Linked DNA regions of Homo sapiens: region 2 is linked to region 1. Evidence: promoter capture Hi-C in 16 types of primary human blood cells and fetal thymus (Javierre and others, 2016). All regions are on one chromosome and are shown on one strand. The core of a region is centred on a gene start or on the middle of the fragment in contact, and the rest is flanking DNA. Distances in the headings are between cores, read along the strand shown. Region 1 holds the start of S1PR4 (sphingosine-1-phosphate receptor 4). Region 2 has its middle 7.8 kb from the start of TLE6.

Evidence for each region. The method cuts DNA at HindIII sites, captures the fragments that hold promoters and counts their contacts. A CHiCAGO score of 5 or more calls a contact.
Region 2: a fragment that was not itself captured here is called in contact with the fragment with the promoter of S1PR4 in region 1 in 3 of 17 cell types (naive CD4 T cells, activated CD4 T cells and monocytes); the score reaches 5.5 in naive CD4 T cells.

What each region holds. Positions count from the first base shown.
Region 1 is chr19:3,177,519-3,182,003 of GRCh38, forward strand. It overlaps S1PR4 (sphingosine-1-phosphate receptor 4), which reads left to right and starts at 1,251. Exons shown (of 1, transcript NM_003775.4): 1 at 1,251-2,814. The coding sequence starts at 1,275. The coding sequence ends at 2,429. RefSeq lists enhancers at 1-115, 1,699-2,348, 2,389-2,568, 2,609-2,838, 3,449-3,498 and a silencer at 919-1,468. The HindIII fragment of the contact is 14,219 bases long and covers 1-4,485 here.
Region 2 is chr19:2,966,107-2,973,394 of GRCh38, forward strand. No RefSeq gene overlaps it. Among named protein-coding and RNA genes, the nearest start is that of TLE6, 7.8 kb to the right of the region's middle. The HindIII fragment of the contact is 8,792 bases long and covers 1-7,288 here.

The sequences.
Region 1 (4,485 bases), core at 1-2,500:
GAATCCCAAAATGGGCGCCTGGCCCCGAGACCCTACCAGCTTGTCCCTGGGGGTCTCTCTCCCTGGACCTGTGTGTCCTCCCATGGGCAGAAAGTTGGCCTCAGGCCGCCTTTGTGGGCCTCAGTTTTCCCTTCTGTAACGCATCAGGCTCTCTGGGCCTCAGTTTCCCCTTCTGCAACGCATCGGGCTCTCTGGGCCTCAGTTTCCCCTTCTGCAACGCATCGGGCTCTCTGGGCCTCAGTTTCCCCTTCTGCAACGCATCGGGCTCTCTGGGCCTCAGTTTCCCCTTCTGCAACGCCTCGGGCTCTCTGGGCCTCAGTTTCCCCTTCTGCAACGCATCGGGCTCTCTGGGCCTCAGTTTCCCCTTCTGCAACGCCTCGGGCTCTCTGGGCCTCAGTTTCCCCTTCTGCAACGCCTCGGGCTCTCTGGGCCTCAGTTTCCCCTTCTGCAACGCATCGGGCTCTCTGGGCCTCAGTTTCCCCTTCTGCAACGCATCGGGCTCTCTGGGCCTCAGTTTCCCCTTCTGCAACGCATCGGGCTCTCTGGGCCTCAGTTTCCCCTTCTGCAACGCCTCGGGCTCTCTGGGCCTCAGTTTCCCCTTCTGCAACGCCTCGGGCTCTCTGGGCCTCAGTTTCCCCTTCTGCAACGCATCGGGCTCTCTGGGCCTCAGTTTCCCCTTCTGCAACGCATCGGGCTCTCTGGGCCTCAGTTTCCCCTTCTGCAACGCACCGGGCTCTCTGGGCCTCAGTTTCCTCTTCTGTAACGCATCAGGCCCTGTTTCGGGGATCAAGTCGGATGAGTCAGTGCTCAAGGGCATGCAGGCACTTGACATTTATTAGGCACCTGCTGTGTGCTGAGCGCCGGTGGAGCATGTGGGGAGACCTCAGTGGAGCCGACGGGTGCTTCGGGGGTGATCAGGGCTGGTGGGGAGGAGTCGTCCGGCTGGAAAGGGGTGGCCCATCCCGAGTGGGGACTCATTTCCCCTCCGTGACTGACGGCTCCGGGGCTCCCTGCGGGTCTCCGGCTTTCGAGGACAGGAAGAAGGCAGCCAGGGCAGGGGTGGGGGTCCTCACAGCCAGGGCAGCCCCAGCGCGTTGGCTCCAGGAGCCCGGGTGGGGGCCGACCGTTGGGGTGCCCCTCCCTGTCCTCGGCCTTACCTCCACCCTGGAGGGCACCTTGAACATAACAGGAAATTTCAAATAACAGGAAACCAAGACCAGCAAGGCGGGTGGCTCCACCCTGCGTCGGGCCTCAGTCAGCCCCCGGGGGAGGCCATGAACGCCACGGGGACCCCGGTGGCCCCCGAGTCCTGCCAACAGCTGGCGGCCGGCGGGCACAGCCGGCTCATTGTTCTGCACTACAACCACTCGGGCCGGCTGGCCGGGCGCGGGGGGCCGGAGGATGGCGGCCTGGGGGCCCTGCGGGGGCTGTCGGTGGCCGCCAGCTGCCTGGTGGTGCTGGAGAACTTGCTGGTGCTGGCGGCCATCACCAGCCACATGCGGTCGCGACGCTGGGTCTACTATTGCCTGGTGAACATCACGCTGAGTGACCTGCTCACGGGCGCGGCCTACCTGGCCAACGTGCTGCTGTCGGGGGCCCGCACCTTCCGTCTGGCGCCCGCCCAGTGGTTCCTACGGGAGGGCCTGCTCTTCACCGCCCTGGCCGCCTCCACCTTCAGCCTGCTCTTCACTGCAGGGGAGCGCTTTGCCACCATGGTGCGGCCGGTGGCCGAGAGCGGGGCCACCAAGACCAGCCGCGTCTACGGCTTCATCGGCCTCTGCTGGCTGCTGGCCGCGCTGCTGGGGATGCTGCCTTTGCTGGGCTGGAACTGCCTGTGCGCCTTTGACCGCTGCTCCAGCCTTCTGCCCCTCTACTCCAAGCGCTACATCCTCTTCTGCCTGGTGATCTTCGCCGGCGTCCTGGCCACCATCATGGGCCTCTATGGGGCCATCTTCCGCCTGGTGCAGGCCAGCGGGCAGAAGGCCCCACGCCCAGCGGCCCGCCGCAAGGCCCGCCGCCTGCTGAAGACGGTGCTGATGATCCTGCTGGCCTTCCTGGTGTGCTGGGGCCCACTCTTCGGGCTGCTGCTGGCCGACGTCTTTGGCTCCAACCTCTGGGCCCAGGAGTACCTGCGGGGCATGGACTGGATCCTGGCCCTGGCCGTCCTCAACTCGGCGGTCAACCCCATCATCTACTCCTTCCGCAGCAGGGAGGTGTGCAGAGCCGTGCTCAGCTTCCTCTGCTGCGGGTGTCTCCGGCTGGGCATGCGAGGGCCCGGGGACTGCCTGGCCCGGGCCGTCGAGGCTCACTCCGGAGCTTCCACCACCGACAGCTCTCTGAGGCCAAGGGACAGCTTTCGCGGCTCCCGCTCGCTCAGCTTTCGGATGCGGGAGCCCCTGTCCAGCATCTCCAGCGTGCGGAGCATCTGAAGTTGCAGTCTTGCGTGTGGATGGTGCAGCCACCGGGTGCGTGCCAGGCAGGCCCTCCTGGGGTACAGGAAGCTGTGTGCACGCAGCCTCGCCTGTATGGGGAGCAGGGAACGGGACAGGCCCCCATGGTCTTCCCGGTGGCCTCTCGGGGCTTCTGACGCCAAATGGGCTTCCCATGGTCACCCTGGACAAGGAGGCAACCACCCCACCTCCCCGTAGGAGCAGAGAGCACCCTGGTGTGGGGGCGAGTGGGTTCCCCACAACCCCGCTTCTGTGTGATTCTGGGGAAGTCCCGGCCCCTCTCTGGGCCTCAGTAGGGCTCCCAGGCTGCAAGGGGTGGACTGTGGGATGCATGCCCTGGCAACATTGAAGTTCGATCATGGTACGTGATGTTGCGGCCTCTTATTCCCTGGTGCGTGCATGCGTGGGGGCCGTGGCTCAGGGGGGCTGTGGATCTAGGGGCAGCCGGGTGTGTCTTTGCTAGAGAGGGCCACGGGCCAGTGCCCTGTGAGGGTGGAGTGTGTGTGTGTGTGTGTGTGTGTGTGTGTGTGTGTGGACAACCTCTGGGCGTTGCGGGAAGTGGGGGTGACAATGACAGTTAATGCCGCCTCTTCTTGTTCACTTCCCCTTTAGAAATGGCAGGGCCCATGCCCCATCTCTGGCCTCTGCATCTTTTGGGGACCCACTCTCTGGGGCTGGCAGAGGCACCACCTTGGCTTCCTGGGCTGGGGGAATCTTCCCTCACATCCCCTTCAGCATGAACGGCCTCGGCTTTCCCGGTGGGTAAAACAGTTTAATCACTGAAGCCGAAGCACAGGGTTGATTGTACACGCTCCCCGCCAGCCACAGGGGCTGACAACTGCCTGCCCCGTGAAACTCCAGTGGAGACGTTTCAGCTCCACACCATTCAGTATGGGAGACGCCAGCCCCACGGGGCTACGGTGCAAGCAGATAACTGAATTTCGAAGTGTAGGTTGTGTTTAATTTGAATCTGTTTATATTTCGGTAGCCCCATGGGGCGGGTGGCCACAGTTTCAGTGCAGATGTAAATCCGGAAGCCTCCAGCACCTGCAGCTCATAGACAGCTCTCGCCCACCTTCTCCCAGGACCAAGCCAGTCCCGTCCAGTCCAGTGTCTGAGCAGAGTCAGAATCCACACCACCCGCCGCCTGGGCTCAGAAAGTTCTGCTTTAAGTCATTATTTCTCCACTGTACGATGGGGAATGCGGTGTGTGGGGGCCATTTACCCACCAACACAGCAGCTGTGAGGCACACACGGCTATTGAAAATTCATGGAAATTGCTGGGTGTGGTGGCTCATGCCTGTAATCCCAGCACTTTGGGAGGCCGAGGCAGGAGGATTGCTTGAGTGCAGGAGTTCCAGACCAGCCTGGGCAACATAGCGAAACCACATCTCTACAAAAAAATCCTCCAAAATTAAAAAAATTAGCCCGAGCATGTTGTTGCATGCCTGTGGTTCCAGCTACTCGAGAGGCTGAGGTGGGAGGATCACTTGAGCCCGGGAGGTCGAGGCTGCAGGGAGCGGTGATCGTGCCAGCCTGGGTGACAGAGTGAGACCCTGTCTCTAAAAAAAAATTAAAAAAAAAAAAAAAAGAAAATTCATTGAAATTAAATGAAAGTTAGGCCAGGTGCATTGGTTCATGCCTGTAATCGCAGCACTTTGGGGGGCCGAGGTGGGTGGATCATGAGGTCAGGAGTTCAAGACCAGCCTGGCTAAGATGGTGAAACCCTGTCTCTACTAAAAATACAAAAAATAAGCTGGGTGCGGTGGCAGGCGCCTGTAATCCCAGCTACTCGGGAGGCTGAGGCAGGAGAATCGCTTGAACTCGGAGGGTGGAGGTTGCAGTGAGCTGGGATTGCTCCACTGCACTCCAGTCTGGGCGATAGAGTGAGACTCCGTCTCAAAAAACAAAACAAAAACAACAACAAAAAAGAAATTAAATGAAAGTTAAAAATTTAGTCTCTCAGTGTATTGATTTGCTAGGGCAGCCATGACAGTCTCACAGATGGAGAGGCTTGAAAACAGACATTTATGCT
Region 2 (7,288 bases), core at 2,544-5,043, 210 kb before region 1:
AAAAAAAAAAAAAAAAAAAGGCCGGGCGCGGTGGCTCACGCCTGTAATCTCAACACATTGGGAGGCCGAGGCAGGCGGATCACAAGGTCAGGAGATCAAGACCATCCTGGCTAACACGGTGAAACCCCATCTCTACTAAAAATACAAAAAATTAGCCGGGCGTGGCAGCGGGCACCTGTTGTCCCAGCTACTGGGGGGCTGAGGCAGGAGAATGGTGTGAACCCGGGAGGCGGAGCTTGCAGTGAGCCGAGATTGTGCCACTGCATTCCAGCTGGGGCGACGAAACGAGACTCCGTCTCAAAAAAAAAAAAAAAAAGTGACGCCAGGTGCAGTGGCTCATGCCTGTAATCCTAGCACTTCGGGCGGCAGAGATTGGCAGATTGCCTGAGCTCAGGAGTTCAAGACCAGCCTGGGCAACATGGTGAAATCCAGTCTCTACTAAACTACAAAAAAAATCAGCTGGGCGTGGTGACGGGTGTCTATAATTCCAGCTACACAGGAGACTGAGGCATGAGAATTACTTGAACCCAGGAGGCAGAGGTTGCAGTGATCCGAGATCGCGCCACTGTACTCCAGCCCGGGTGACAAGGTGAAACTCTGTCTAAAAACAAAAAAACAACAACAACAGCAAAGTGACAAATAGAGCCAGGGACAGCTTTGAATAGTGCGTTCTCATGCATGGATGCCTGATAACAAGAAAATATCACAAAAGACTGCATGCCGGGCACGGGGCTCACACCTGTAATCCCAGCACTTTGGGAGGCCGAGACAGGAGGATCACTTGAGCCTAGGAGTTTGAGGCCAGCCGGAGCAACACAGCCAGACTCTGCCTCTACAAAACAATAAAAAATAAAAAATAGCCAGGCGTGGTGGCACATGCCTGTAGTCCCAGCTACTCAGAAGGCTAAGGTGGGAGGATGACTTAAGCCTCGTAGGTTGAGGCAACAGTGAGCCATGATGGGGCCACTGCACTCCAACCTGAGCAATAGCATGAGACCCTGTCTCAAAAAAATAAAAGAAAAAAATAAAAGGCTGCAAACCCCAAAAATTTGCATCAAACTTCCTTTTTTCTTTTTGTTTTTTGAGATGGAGTCTCGCTCTGTCACCCAGGCTAGAGTGCAGTGGCGCAATCTTGGCTCACTGCAAGCTCCGTCTGCCACTCTCCTGCCTCAGCCTCCCGAGTAGCTGGGACTACAGGCACCCGCCACCATGCCGGCTGATTTTTTTTTTTTTTTTGGAGATGGAGTCTCGCTCTGTTGCCCAGGCTGGAGTGCAGTGGCAGGATCTCGGCTCACTGCAAGCTCTGCCTCCTGGGTTCACGCCATTCTCCTGCCTCAGCCTCCTGAGTAGTTGGGACTACAGGCGCCCACCACCACGCCCGGCTAATTTTTTTTGTATTTTTAGTAGAGACAGGGTTTCACCGTGTTAGCCAGGATGGTCTCGATCTCCTGACCTCGTGATCCGCCCACCTCGGCCTCCCAAAGTGCTGTGATTAAAGGTGTGAGCCACCGCGCCCAGCCCTGATTTTTTAAATTTTTAGTAGAGACGGGGTTTCACTGTGTTAGCCAGGATGGTCTGGATCTCCTGACCTCGTGATCCGCCTGCCTCAGCCTCTCAAAGTGCTGGGATTACAGGCGTAAACCACCACGCCTGGCCGCATCAAACTTCCCGTCACAACCTTATTCTACAGGACATCTTTTCAACAAGACCAGCTTTATCCTTGTTTTTTGTTTGTTTGTTTGTTTGAGACAGGGTCTCACTCTGTCGTCCAGGCTGGAGTGCAGTGGTGTGATCTCAGCTCACTGCAACCTCCGCCTCCTGGGTTCAAGTGATTCTTGTGCTTCAGCCTCCCAAGTAGCTAGGATTACAGGCAGGCGCCAGCATGCCCGGTTAATTTTTGTATTTTTAGCAGAGATGGGGTTTCTCCATGTTGGCCAGGCTGATCTTGAACTCCTGGCCTCAGGTGATCTGCCCACCTCAACCTCCCAAAGTGCTGGGATTACACGCGTCAGCCACCGTGCCTGGCCTACCGTTGTTATTGATCCTTGTAGCGAAGGATAATTACCTCAAAATAGTTACGTCATCTTCCTCAATTCTCCTTTAGAAATCTTTGTCTTCTATTACCTCCCTCAGTATGTGCATAGCTTACTTACTATAGCACTGCAAAGCCCTATTTCCAAATAAATATCCTTTTGTTTTAGAGAGCTTCTCCTTGTTTGTTATTTAGGTTGACAGTTTCTTTTTTGAGCCTTGTAGTGGGTAGAACTTTGTCCCCCAAAAATATCTGTTGAAGTCCAAAAGCCCCCTCCATCCCCTGTACCTGGGAATGCGACCTTATTTGGAAATAGGGTCATTGCAGATATGATTAGTTATGGCCGAATGCAGTGGCTCACTCCTGTACTCCCAGCACTTTGGGAGGCCAAGGTGGGTGGATCACGTGAGGCCAGGAGCTTGAGACCAGACTGGGCAACACGCCAACACTCCCCTCGGCAAAAAAATACAAAAATTAGACGGGCATGGTGGCACACACCTGGAGTCCCAGCACTTTGGGAGGCCAACGCAGGCAGACCACAAGGGCAACAGATGGAGACCATCCTGGCCAACAGAGTGAAACCCCATCTCTACTAAAAATACAAAAATTAGTTGGGCGTGGTGGTGGCGGGCGCCTGTAGTCCCAGCTACTGGGGAGGTTGAGGCAGGAGAATCGCTTGAACCTGGGAGGCGGAGGTTGCAGCGAGCCGAGATCACATCGCTGCACTCCAGCCTGGCGACAGAGCAAGACTCCGAGTCAAAAAAAAAAAAAAGATTAGTTAAGATGAGGTCACATTGGATTAAGACAGCTTCTAAATCTGTTGTTTTTTTGTTGTTGTTGTTGTTGTTTTTTGTTTTTTTTGAGACAGGGTCTCACTCCCTCACCCAGGCTGGAGTGCAGTGGCGCCACCTCGGCTCACTGCAACCTCCGCCTCCCGGGTTCAAGCGATTCTCAAGGCAGCTCCTAAATCTAATAATTGGCGTTCTTATCAGGAGAGGGAAATTTGGACACAGACACAGAGACAAACAGGGAAGAAAGCCAAGCAGTGATGGAAGCAGAAATTGGAGTGAAGCCAAGTCACACCAAAGCCTGCTGGCCGCCACCAGAAACTGGAAGAGGCAGGGAGGACCCTCCCCTGGAGCCTTCAGAGGGAGCACAGTGGCCCTCCCCACACCTCGATTCTGGCCTCCGTCACTGTGCGAAAATACATTTCTGTTGTCTGAAGCCACCTGGTTTGCAGTCATCTGTTACAGCAGCTACAGAAAACAAATATCAGCTTCTTTCTACCAGGTGGCAGGAGGCAAACCTCATCAATCCTAGCCACTTCCACAAACTCACTCTTCCTGTGACAGGGGGTTGGTGTGGAGCCTGAGGGTGGGGGTGAAGCTGTCCTCACAGGGTTAACAAGAATTCTGTACAGATTGGCCGGGAGCGGTGGCTCACGCCTGTAATCCCAGCACTTTGGGAGGCCGAGGCGGGTGGATCACAAGGTCAGGAGTTCGAGACCAGCCTGGCCAAGATGGTGAAACCCCGTTTCTACTAAAAATAAAAAAAAATTAGCCAGGCGTGGTGGCAGGCGCCTGTAGTCCCAGCTACTTAGGAGGCTGAGGCAGGAGAATTCCTTGAACCTGGGAGGTGGAGGTTGCAGTGAGCCGAGATTGTGCCAATGCACTCTAGCCTGGGTGACAGAGCGAGACTCCATCTCAAAAAAAAAAAAAAAAAAAGAATTATGTACAGACATATAGTTATAATTAAGCATTAGGCTGGGCCTGGTGGCTCACGCCTGTAATCTTAGCACTTTGGGAGGCCGAGGCAGGTGGATCACCTGAGGTCAGGAGTTCGAGACCACCCTGACCAACATGGTGAAACCCTGTCTTTACTAAAAGGACAAAAAATTAGCCGGGCGTGGTGGCGGGCGCCTGTAATCCCAGCTACTAGGGAGGCTGATGCAGGAGAATTGCTTGAACCCGGGAGGTGGAGGTTGCAGTGAGTCGAGACTGCACCACTGCACTCCAGCCTGGGCAAAAAGAGCGAAACTCCATCTCAAAAAATAAAAAATTAAAATTAAAATGAAGCATTAATCTGGCTGCACTCTGACCTGCTTCCTTGTAACAGAAAAGCACATTGCACTAGACACTGACCATTTGCACCACATAGATACCATCTCTGACGTTAGAAGCAAAATACTTCTGTTTAAGAATTGCTTAAGCAGGCCAGGCTCATTCCTGTAATGCCAACAATTTGGGAGGCCCTGGCAGGAGGATTGCTTGAGCCCAGCTGTATAAGACTGGCTTGGGCAACATAGCCAGACCTCATCTCTACAGAAAATTTAAAAATTAGCCAGGCATGGTGGTGTACGCCTGTAGTCCCAGCTACTCAAAAGGCTGAGGTGGGAGGATCGCTTGAACCCAGGAGGTCACAGCTGAGTGAGCTATGATTGCACCACTGCACTCCAACCAGAGCAATAGAGCAAGACTCCATCTCTAAAAAAACAAGAACAGGGCCAGGCATGGTGGCCTGCGGCTGTAATCCTAGCATTCTGGGAGGCCGAGGTGGGTGGATCGGATCACCTGAGGTCAGGAGCTGGAGACCAGCCTGCCCAACATGGGAAAACCCCGTCCCTACTTAAAATACAAAAATTAGCTGGGCGTGGTGGCGGGCACCTGCAATCCCAGCTACTTGAGAGGCTGAAACAGGAGAGTCGCTTGAAACCGGGAGACAAAAGGTTGCAGTAAGCCGAGATGGCGCCACTGCACTCCAGCCTGGGTGACAGAGCGAGACTCCGTCTCAAAAAAAAAAAAAAAAAAAAAAAGCCAGGGATGGTGGCTCACGCCTGTAATCCCAGCACTTTGGGAAGCTGAGGCAGACAGATCACCTGAGGTCAGGAGTTCGAGACCAGCCTGGCCAACATGGTGAGACTCCCCCCCACCAACTAAAAATACAAAAATTAGCCGGGCATGGTGGCAAGTGCCTATAATCCCAGCTACTCGGGAGGCTGAGGCAGGAGAATTGCTTGAACCTGGGAGGCAGAGGTTGCAGTGAGATGAGATCATGCCGCTACACTCCAGCCTGGGGGACAGAATGAAACTCTGTCTGAAACATACAAACGAACAAAAAAAGTTTTGGAGTGTGGCGCCTGTTGACTGGTTGAAGAGTGCAGGGTGAAGTTCTGGGACGGGGGAGGGAGAAGCTATGTTCTCATGCTCATCCTGCTCCTCTCTGGGGGCCTTCACACTAGCTGGTGTCAGCTGTTCTGCTGGAATTCAGGATCTACTCAAGCAATTCTCTTTTTTCTTTCTTTCTTTCCCAGGCTGGAGTGCAGTGGCACAATCTTGGCTCACTGCAACCCCTGCCTCCCGGGTTCAAGAGATTCTCCTGCCTCAGGCTCCTGAGTAGCTGGGATTACAGGCATTTGCCACCGTGCCCCGCTAATTTTTGAGTTTTTAGTAGAGGTGGGGTTTCATCATATTGGCCAGACTGGTCTCAAACTCCTGACCTCAGGTGATCCACCCGCCTCAGCCTCCCGAAGTGCTGGGATTATAGGCATGGGTCACTGCGCCTGGCCGCAATTCTTTTTTCGACACAGGGTCTTGCTCTGTTGCCCAGGCTGGAGTGCAGTGGTACAGTCTCGGTTCAGAGCAGGCTCAACTTCCCAGGCTCAAGTGATCCTCCCACCTCAGCCTCCCGAGCAACTGGGACGACAGGTGTGTGCCACCGTGCCTGGCTAATTTTTTATTTTTTATAGAAATGGGGTCTCACTTTGTTGCCCAGGCTGGTCTTGAAGTCCTAGGCTCAAGCGATCGTCCTGCCTTGGCCTTCCAAAGTGCTGGCATTGCAGACATGAACCACGGCACCCAGCAAGGTAGTTTGCTTGTGTAAAACAAAAACTCCAAAGTATTTGGAATGCAAATGCCTTTTGTCTCAAACCTTCTAGACTTTGAGTTTCCAAGTCAACCAAACAACTCAAAAGCCAAGAACAAGGAGGAAATATTGGCTTCCTTCCTTCCTGTCTGCTGTGTCATCTGTCTCCTCCCTGAGGGGTCAAGGGAAATTGCTCCCTGCTGGCTGGGCTGGAGTGGCCAGGGCACAGCCAAAGGGAAGGACCCAGGGTGACCACACTCCAGGGAATTCCCTCCAACCCCACTCACGGGGGTTTTAAATCAGGGAGAAATGGGCCACGCTGGTGGCTCACGCCTGTAATCCCAGCACTTTGGGAGGCCAAGGTGGGCAGATCACAAGGTCAGGAGTTCGAGACCAGCCTGACCAACATGGTGAAACCCTGTCTCTACTAAAAATACAAAACCCTGTCTCTACTAAAAATACAAAAATTAGCTGGGCATGGTGGCGCACACCTGTAATCCCAGCTACTCAGGAGGCTGAGGCAGAAGGATTGCTTGAACCTGGGAGGCAGAGGGTGCAGTGAGCCAAGATCACACCACTGCACCCCAGCCTGGGTGATAGAGCGAGACTCCATCTCGGAAAAAAAAAAAAAAAAAAGGCAGGGGGAAACAGAATGGACCAGTCTCTGTGGCTCACCCCTGTAATCCCAGCACTTTAGGAGACTGAGGCAGGAGAATCGCTTGAGCCCAGGAGTTCAAAACCAGCCTGGGCAACACAGGAAGACCTTGTCCCTACAAAATACAAAAATGAGCTGGGTGTGCTGGGTGGCAAGCACCTGTGGTCCCACCTATTTGGGAGGCTGAGACGGGAGGACTGCTTGAGCCCAGGAGGTTGGGACTGCAGGGAGCCAAGATTGTGCCACCGCACTCCAGCCTGAGCAAGAGTGAGATCCTGTCTCAAAAAAAAAAAAAAAAAAAAAGGCTCAGGCCTGTAATCTCAACACTTTGGGAGAACGAGGTGGGGGTGGATCCCCTGAAGTCAGGAGTTCGAGACCAGCCTGGCCAACATGATGAAACCCTGTCTCTACTAAAAATACAAAAATTAGCCGAGTGTGGTGGCACGTGCCTGTAATACCAGCCACTCAGGAGGCTGAGGCAGAAGAATCGCTTGAACCCGGGAGGTGGAGGTTGCAGTGAGCTGAGGTTGCACCATTGCACTCCTGCCTGAGCAACAGAGTGAGACCCCTTCTCAAAAAAAAAAAAGAGTAGAAATGGAATGACTACTGAAAATGTGCTTCCGATTTCTACATGGACCCTGGAGGAATTTCTCTTTCCTAGGAGCCTCCAATCAGTGCTGTCCACTGGGACTTTCTGTGATGACAGAATGTTCTAGATCTTCGCTGTCCAGTACGGTGAC